Regions from separate parts of the Homo sapiens genome. Here regions 1 and 3 are each linked to region 2. The links are contacts of gene promoters, found by promoter capture Hi-C in human tissues and cell types (Jung and others, 2019). All regions are on one chromosome and are shown on one strand. The core of a region is centred on a gene start or on the middle of the fragment in contact, and the rest is flanking DNA. Distances in the headings are between cores, read along the strand shown.

Region 1 (2,870 bases), core at 163-2,662, 240 kb after region 2:
GCTGCTCTCAGTGAATAAGTTTCTAAAAATGAAATTCCTAAACCAAAGCACTTGGTCATGCAAGGGGCAGCTTTCTGAAAAAGGCCTGAACTTGGAGCTTAGCACCTGCGTTCAAATCCTGGCTGTTCCTGTTAGTCATACATACGTGGCTTTGGGCAGATTCCTGCACCACTGAATCTTGGTTACCAGGATGCAGTGAGAAGCAACATGAAATTACATGATGCCTGGCTCCTGGTAGATGTGTATCAAACATTGGCATGCTGTGCTACATCCACCAAGTGCCGTGGAAATCTTGTAACAGCATGTTTTTAATAAAAAGTTCAAAACATACAAGGGAAGCCTTAGAGAGTGTGACTTATTAGGGAAAGGAAATAAACATTTTTTGGCACTAAATATCTTCTTCACTGAGGAGCATTCCAGGAGAAATAATCATGCATATTTGAGAGTTTTCTTTTAATTGAATGTTGGAAACAGAGTCCTTGGCCTCCAGAGACCATATTATCTCATTAATGAGATGGAAAACTGGTCCCCAAACAAGTGAAGGCTGCATGTGCCTAACAGGTTACAAAGGAGAGTGGAGCTTGAGATAGGGAGCCATAGAGAAGAGTGGGCAAGATCACATTTGATGCTTCCTTGAGTACTTTGTATAAATTTAGGAAATCCAAGGTAAATTGGGAGAAGCAGGTCCAGAAGGCAAAGTTTGACAGGATGTGAAAAGGCAAGAGGGGGATGGCATTGTAGGAGTTCAGGTATTTGTCAAGACCATCATGGTGACTGGCTTTTGGGGAGTGCCTGAGTGGGAAGGAAGTAAAGTCAGAGGGGAGCCCCTGGTGGCTTAGCAGCCCAGTAGTAGCCGCCAGAGGCTCATGTTCCATTCTGCAGCAGGGCATTGAGTAATGGGAGCCAGAGTTTGGAAGAAGTGATTTGCTCTGCACTGAAAGGCAGAGAGAGCAGCTAGGTGCGTGCAGCAGTAATCCAGCCCCAATTAAGCCATCCTACAGGAGAGCACTGTGTGAGGGCATTTGGAGGAAGCAAGTTGAGAGAGGGGACCAGAGAGGCACTTTCAAGGTGGGGGAAAACTAAGAAGCAAAGGTGGATTTGTCTGGCCTTGAAGTCAGTGTGTCTACATGTCAGTTGCTCGTGTTTGGGACCTGGCTGACACGAGATGCATTCAGGAAGGGCTGTGCCCCATGGCCTGCATGTGGGCAGTGAGTGGTGCTAGAGGGAGAGCCTAGGGAGGGGCAGGGAGAGCCACACAGAGGGCACAGCTGGGACGGCAGCTTTGCAGCTGTGCCTGGAGATGTTGCAGCTTGGCTTGGGACAGGGGAGGCTGTTGAATGAGATTCTACAGGCAGAGACAGTAATCACTGCTGCTTCCCTGGGCAGCAGGAACAATGCAGAACTGGGAATTAGTCCCAAATTTGAAACCGTGGGGAAACAGGCCAGCCTTGTCACACAGGACCAAAAGGTGGAAAGGATGGGAATTGACGAAAGACCGCCACAGGGTGAGATGAGGACATGATGGCCAGTTAGGATATGGTGTCTCTTTCACAGAAGCCACAGCAGAGGAGGTCAGTGGTCATATTGGTTAGATGGTCTGCCTGACATGTCATCTCGGAATGGTCCAGGAAGATGTAGCAGGTGGTCCTAGCTATCACGTGTTAGAAACTTGGGAACAGTGCTTTTGAGTTCTTTAGTTTCACCTTTTCCTAGATTCACTTGCTTTTTAGTCATGGGAGGAGTAAAAGTGAAAGTTGGAAGATTTGTTCTATGAAAGGAAAATCAGGGAGCAGAACCTACTCCTGACAGCATCCAGAGACACAATCTGGAGATGTCACACCTGCAGCACCGAAACTCAATGTCAGGCACTTGGGGTCTGGATGGCTCCTGAGCTGAACTACAGATTTGGGCCACCTCTCTAGGCTCACCATCCAGATCTGGGTCCAGAGGACAGAATTATTACCTTTGGGTTAAAGTGATCCCTTCTCAAGTTTTTATTTAATGTGCTTTTAAAAGGCAAACCCCACATACCATCAGTTTGGTTACTCTTCCCATTCCCTCAGCTACCAAGTTATTTTGGTTGAATAGAAGCTTTCCTTTTTGTAGGGTGTCTTCATTTCTTACATCTCACTCTATTTCACTGTTAGGCACAAGGGAATGGACACATTTGACAAGTTCCACAGTACTAGATGGGTCCTCTAAGTACAGTCTGACCTTCAGTTTCAGCTTTCCTATTTAATCTGTCATGTAAAATTAATTGTACTCCAAAGTGGCCATCAAATACAGTCCCTATTTGACTTTTTGTTGTTGTTGAGACGGAGTCTTGCTCTGTCACCCAGGCTGGAGTGCATTGGCGCCATCTCGGCTCACTGCAACCTCCGCCTCCCGGGTTCAAGCAGTTCTCTGCCTCAGCCTCCTGAGTATGGGATTACAGGCGCCCGCCACCATGTTCGGCTAATTTTTTTGTATTATTAGTAGAGACAGGGTTTCACCATCTTGGCCAGGCTGGTCTTGAACTCCTGACCTTGTGATCCGCCCGCGTCAGTCTCCCAAAGTGCTGGGATTACAGGCGTGAGCCACCACGCCCGACTCCTATTTGACTTTTTTAAAAGTGCTCCTCAGAGTACTGATACCATGACCCCACACTGCCCACAGAGACCCTGTCTCTGGAAGTAATGCCAGCTTCCTGCCAGTAGAAGCAGCGTGAGTTGCCAGGCTTCCATTATGGGATGGTTATGCTGTCCTGGAACGGCAGAGGTTATCACTTGTTTCTTTTTTTCGCTTTTTAGTTTTTTAACGTAAGTAAATTTCTTGCTGATGTCTAAAACTTAGGCCTTAATAATGCACCACACTCCCCGCCTTCCTCTCAC
Region 2 (3,035 bases), core at 126-2,625:
TATAGTCCCAATGTTTGCTTCTAATAGCAAGACAAATCCTTGATGGAAAATGTACAAAGTAATTGAGCTGGCAAGGAATCAGAAGGAAATACCCAGGCCCCTTTCTTCCTGGTGACACATGTATGCCATCTTCAGAAGCTCAGAAACAAGCAGGAAAAGTGAGCAAAGGTGAAGATATATGTATTACTTCGGGTTTCTCATCCATCTAGGGGATTTTCCTTAATTGTCGGGTTTGATTTTAAATGAATGCCTGTACAACCGGAAATCAACTCCAGTACAAAAAATAAAGTCATGTGGAATTTTTGAAAATTGCCATACGGTAGGATCCATATCTGAGTTGTTATAATGAAAAAAGAATTCCTGCTTCTTAAATTTAAAAATTATAAAGTATACATTTTAGCTTTGTTAACATTGCTCAGCCTAACATTAAAACGGCAGGGGAAGTAGGTCATAGAGAAAGCGGCCCCGCCCCAGATGGCACATGATAACGACCAGAGGAGAAGCAGGGGCCATGCTCCCCTGTCACCTGGGGTGACTTTCTGGGGAAGACTTACTTGGGTGTGCCTGTGGGTTTCCAGTACCTGCAGAAGAGGTACTGTCCGTCTGCATTGACCAGGTGAGGGAGGTCCTGGTAGGGAATGCTCTGCGGGGTCCGCCTGGGGGAACTTTCCTCTGGCATGCTGGAAGGGTCTTCAGGTCCTAGAAGGAAAAGTGACATATTCCAAAGTCAGAAATATCTCAAGAACATGTATGGATAGGAGAGAAAAGTCTAGTTCAGAGTCAGTAACATTTTTTTAAAAGCAGTTTAAAAAACCCCTCTGTTTCAAAGGTTTAAAACATACATACATTTCTTGCAAACCTCTCCAAGACTGAAAAATCCCATTTGTTCTTAAGAAAATGCTCACTTTATTTTTTAAGTGCCTCATTACAGTTTTTCCCCCTTCCCATCTGTGTTTATTTTAAATCATTTCAGGAAACTTCATCTTAAAGACTATTTTAGCTGTAATCAAGTGGAAATTATAGTCAGCTCTATGGGTACAAAGACCCAGCTGCAAGAAGACCCATCTATCTTAAAATCTCCAAGGAACAGTTTCAAGTGGGCACAATAATGAGGTGGATGATACTCAGATTATTCCTCCCATCTGAAATTCCAAGGATACATGACAAACCTGTTTCCATTATGTGCTGGCGTTTGCATTCCACAACCACGACAGCCTGGAGAATCAGAACCAGGCAAATCGGGCTGTTCCCTCATCTGGGCGGCCCCAAGGCAGCAGGAAGGCAGCTCCGAGCCCTCTTCCCGCACCCAGACCCTGCCTTTCGGGCTGGGGCGCTCAGCCGGGAGCCTGCTTCCAGCTCCCACCGGCAGGCTCTCCGGGGCTCCCCTCCCTCCCCAGGGCGGGGAGCGGCGCTGCGATTCTCCACTACTAGTTCATGTCATCACTTTTCCTAAACAAATCGCTAGAGGGGCTCGGAGAAGGGAGGGGCCCGGGAAACTGGGAAACTAGCTCCGCGCACACCGAGGCACCTCGCAGACGCACAAATGCGGGTGCCCAAGGCAAAGTCGCCCCCAAGGCTTCTCACAAACTTTGCTTCCTGTGCGTCTCCGACAGCACAGGACACGTAGCCCCGAAGCTGTCATCGGAAATGCCGCTGGGAAAACCGGGTGGGCTTCGCCGGGTGTCTGCACCGGGGAAGGTGGGGACTAGAAAGATGGAGTTGATGGGGACAAGTTGGTTTGGGGGCTGGTGCGAAGGAGCAGGGAGGGCGCGCGCGCGCGCACACGCGCGCACACTCGGACACGCGCGCACACACACCGTGCACACACACACACGCACACATGGGTAGCGGGAGCCCACGCCGGGCGTGTCCGGGACCCCAGTGCTGCTCCCCACCCCTGACGGCGGCACTGGCGGGCTGGGGCAGGGGCCGGGAGGCAGTTACCGGGGCCACGAGCGCCGCTGTCGCGTTCCCCGAGCGCAGCGGATCCTCGTTTGCGGCGGGCCAGGGCCGGGACGAGCTGCGCGCGACCGGCTTCGCGGCGACAGGGTGCGGCGTCTGCGCCGCCACTTTATCCCTGGGCCGGCTCGGCGGCGGGGGCGGCCCGAGGTGGGTGGGGACGCGCGGGACCCGGCGGGCGGCGGGCGGCGCGGGGAGGCGGCGCCCGGGGCCCACGTGTGCCCGGCCCGCGGGGAGGAGCGGGGGCGCCGCCCGCCGACCCAGCCACGCACTCCTCTCCTCCGCGCCTCGTGGACAGCCGCGCCCCGGGGTGGCCGCCCGAGGACTGTCAGGGAGGCCTGAACTGAGCTGGGTTCATGGGAGCCTCAGCGCGGGAGGACACACCACACCCACGGGCACACGCGCGCACACAGACCCACAGGCACCACACGTACACAGACAACTCGCGCAGGGCCGCACACTCACCACACGTGTACACATGTGCACTCCCAAAGTCACTACACTGCACGCAGGGACATACAGACACACATCCCAGAGATACCACATGCATACAGACACACACAGACCACACATGCATGCACACACACAAGCCGAGACATAGGCACAGACAACCCACAGAGACACAGAGGTGCACAGACATATGCAGACTATACACCTGGCCCCCACATAGACACAGACACACTCACATCATACACACACAGTCGCACACAGACACACTCACACTTCATTGCAGTCAGACACATACAATGCTGGAGGGGCAATTAACCGGTCGTGGTGGCATGCGCCTGTAGTCCCAGCTACTCAGGAGAATCGCTTGAACCCGGGAGGCAGAGGTTGCAGTGAGCCGATACCACACCATTGCACTTCAGCCTGGGTGACAGAGTGAGACTCCATCTCGGGGAAAAAAAAATGCTGGAGGGGGTCCACTTGACTCTAGGGTAGTGTAAAAGCAGATGGTGCATGGCTACAAATGCCTTGTCCCTTCCTGGCAATCCCCAGCAACTCTCCCGTTCCCAGCGGCTGTGACCCCCAGATAAAACCTCTGGTGCATCTACACAGGCCAGGGCACAGTCTGA
Region 3 (2,799 bases), core at 158-2,657, 240 kb before region 2:
TCTCCAAAGAGGTTTCACAGAATGGACAGATGGGGGACGAATGGATGGAGGATGCAGTGGGCATTTTCCCCACCCAGCATCCATTCCCCTCCCCTCTAGTACCAGCTCCCCAATTCTGTTGTGGGCTCCCTCAGTCCATATGGTCCAGCTGAGCTGATGCTGCCCTCCCAGCTTCACAGTGCCCCTTTCCTTGCTAGCCACAGTGCTTGGCTCAGGGATGAGGATGGGATCCTAGGTGGGCCAGTCAGAGGAAATCCCAGGTCTACACTGGCACTATCAGCAAACAGGCACTGTTTGCCTGAGTTGTAGAGGCAGGATGTTAGCTCAAAGTTGCTCCTGGCCATCTTTGACACCATATGAGGGGAACTCATCTGAGATAAGTCCCAAAGAGATCAGAGATGCAGAAACAGATCCTAACGATATCATTTAACTGCCTGGATCCAGCCATACCTGAAGCTTATTTTCATTATAGAAGCAGTTAATTCCCTTTTTGTTTAACCCAGTTGGAGTTGGCTTTTCTGTCAACTGCAGTGAACTCACCAGGATGTAGAAGGTGATAAAAATGGGGCTGGAGGTGATGCGGATCTTCGCCCGAGCAGATGGAAGCTTCCAGAGCAGGAAGATGAGGAAGAGCACATTGGGGATGAGCAGCAAGAGGTCCCAGTACCGGACCCTGGCGGATGGGCACAGGAGCTGGCTCACTGGCGAGGCCACATATGCACCCCCTCTCCAAGACACAATCTGCCCCACCCTCACCACCCCCCTACACCAGGAAAAGCCACTGACACTCAGCGAGCCTGCCCAGCGTTGTGACTGCCTCACCTGGAGGTGCCAATGTCTTCGTAGAGCAGCAGCAGGCAGCGATGAGGCACACTGATGTTTGGTGCCAGGGGTGGGGGTAGCGCTGTGCTCCCATTGGCCCAAGTCACCTCCTCCAGGGTGTCCATCCCGCCAGCAGCCAGCCCTGGGGGAGTGAGAGCCGCCCAGTGAGCTGTGTGGCCTGGGCCACTGTCCTCCTTCCCCTGGACCTGGGACTCCCAGGGGAAAATCAGAGGGGCTGCACAGAGCACCCCTGTAAACCACCCTCCCCACCCACTGCAGCTCAGTGTGGGGCTCCACACAGGTCACGACCCAATCCCCCAGGCAGGGGCCCAGTCCCCCATCTCAGGCTCTATCTCACGACCTGCAAATAGTCTAACAAAGCCACCCCCTCAGCTAAGCATCTCCATGTGCAAGGCACAGCCACTTGGCTCCTTTCAGTCCTGAGGGCCCATGAGAGCAGCGTGGGTAAGAGCATAGGCTCTGGGTTCACAGCCCAGCCCTGCCCCTTCCTTCCTGTCCTCTCCGTGCCTGTGTCCCCCCACCATGGAATGGGTGTAACAAGTGAGGCTGTGGTGATGCCGAGTGCCTCAAACAAGGCACACACGTGAGGAGTTCTTGGTAGCGGTCAGCCATGGTTCTGACCTGCCACACCATGCAGAACTCAGAGGCCACTGACTTGTGTGAGGCCACAGCGCTGCTGAGGGCCAGAGCTGAGCACCATGCCCTCCTCGGTTGCACCCTCTGGCCCTTGTCTCCCTCTGCCACCACAGACAAAGATGGAGGGGACACTGAGCCATGCCTAGAAGATGCACAGGAGGTCTCCAACTGGAGATGGGCATGGGGGAAGAGGCTGTACCACAGAGGGGCAAGGCAAGTGTGTCTGCAATGGCCACGCTGCAGGGTGAAGCCAGGGACAGGGTGGGTCCATAGGCCAGAGGTCCACATGACACTCTGAGCATGAGAGGTCGAGTCTAGCCTGGAAGACAGGAGAGCTGGTGGTCTGGGGTCCTGGGAACCACTCTGGGGTTAGGGGACTGAGGGTCTGGTCGGAAAACCAAGACTCCTAAGCTAGAGGACTCTCAGGAGGCAGCAACAGGTACTTCCGCAGGGAGTTCGGGGTGATCCAGGTGTGGCCTGGGGCACCAGAACGTAACAGATGCCAACATTTAGAATGATTTGAACAGATTGGGCCAGATGCCTGTGACTCTGCTTCACCAGGAATGCTTGTAAAGGCTGTGGATGACAGCCCCAGGCGGGGAGCAGCCCCAGAGCATGGGCATAAATGGTGGCAGGTTCCTACGGTTGACACTTGCACAGCATAAAAAGAACAACCCACTGCTACAGGCAACACGAATGACTCTCAGAAGTGATATAGCGTGAAGCCAGGCACAAGGGCCGACAGGCGTATGATCCGTGGAGAAATGCAGACAGGGCGCCTTTGGGGAGATGAAGCGCATGGTAATTGGGGGAGGCCTGCCAGCGTCTGGGTGTCAGATCCAGGTGGTGGGTACACAGGTGTGTTCACTGTGTGGTAATTCATCAAGCCACACACCGATGACTCCTAAGTCATAGGTGTACTTCAGTAAATTTTAAAAAGTAAAAAAGATGTGGCCGGGCGCGGTGGCTCATGCCTGTAATCCTAGCACTTTGGGAGGCCGAGGCGGGCAGATTGCCTGAGCTCAGGAGTTCGGGACCAGCCTAGACAACATGGTGAAACCCCATCTCTACTAAAATACAAAAAAAAAAAAAAATTAGTTGGGCATGGTGGCATGTGCCTATAGTCCCAGCTACTCAGGAGGCTGAGGCAGAAGAATTGCATGAACCCAGGTGGCGGAGCTTGCAGTGAGCCGAGATGGTGCCACTGTGCTCCAGCCTGGGCGACAGAGCGAGACTCCATCTCAAAAAAAAAAAAAAAAGAAAAAGAAAAAAGATTTGTCCCGACAACACATCAAAGGCCCAGGCCTCCCCTTCAGCAAG

The links. Contacts are between HindIII fragments. The study calls those that stand out against the background at their distance.
Region 1: a fragment that was not itself captured here is called in contact with the fragment with the promoter of MGLL in region 2 in 1 of the 25 tissues and cell types used here (IMR-90 fibroblasts).
Region 3: a fragment that was not itself captured here is called in contact with the fragment with the promoter of MGLL in region 2 in 1 of the 25 tissues and cell types used here (small bowel).

What each region holds. Positions count from the first base shown.
Region 1 is chr3:128,061,044-128,063,913 of GRCh38, forward strand. All of the region lies in intron 7 of SEC61A1 (SEC61 translocon subunit alpha 1), which reads left to right. Among named protein-coding and RNA genes, the nearest start is that of SEC61A1, 10 kb to the left of the region's middle. The HindIII fragment of the contact is 4,484 bases long and covers 1-2,870 here.
Region 2 is chr3:127,821,140-127,824,174 of GRCh38, forward strand. MGLL (monoglyceride lipase) reads right to left here and starts at 1,376. Exons shown (of 8, transcript NM_007283.7): 1 at 1,170-1,376; 2 at 555-699. The coding sequence starts at 1,179. RefSeq lists a silencer at 1,818-2,337. The HindIII fragment of the contact is 31,525 bases long and covers 1-3,035 here.
Region 3 is chr3:127,579,200-127,581,998 of GRCh38, forward strand. It overlaps TPRA1 (transmembrane protein adipocyte associated 1), which reads right to left. Exons shown (of 11, transcript NM_001136053.4): 2 at 823-964; 3 at 541-673. The coding sequence starts at 947. Among named protein-coding and RNA genes, the nearest start is that of MIR6825, 5.3 kb to the left of the region's middle. RefSeq lists an enhancer at 438-1,399. The HindIII fragment of the contact is 6,986 bases long and covers 1-2,799 here.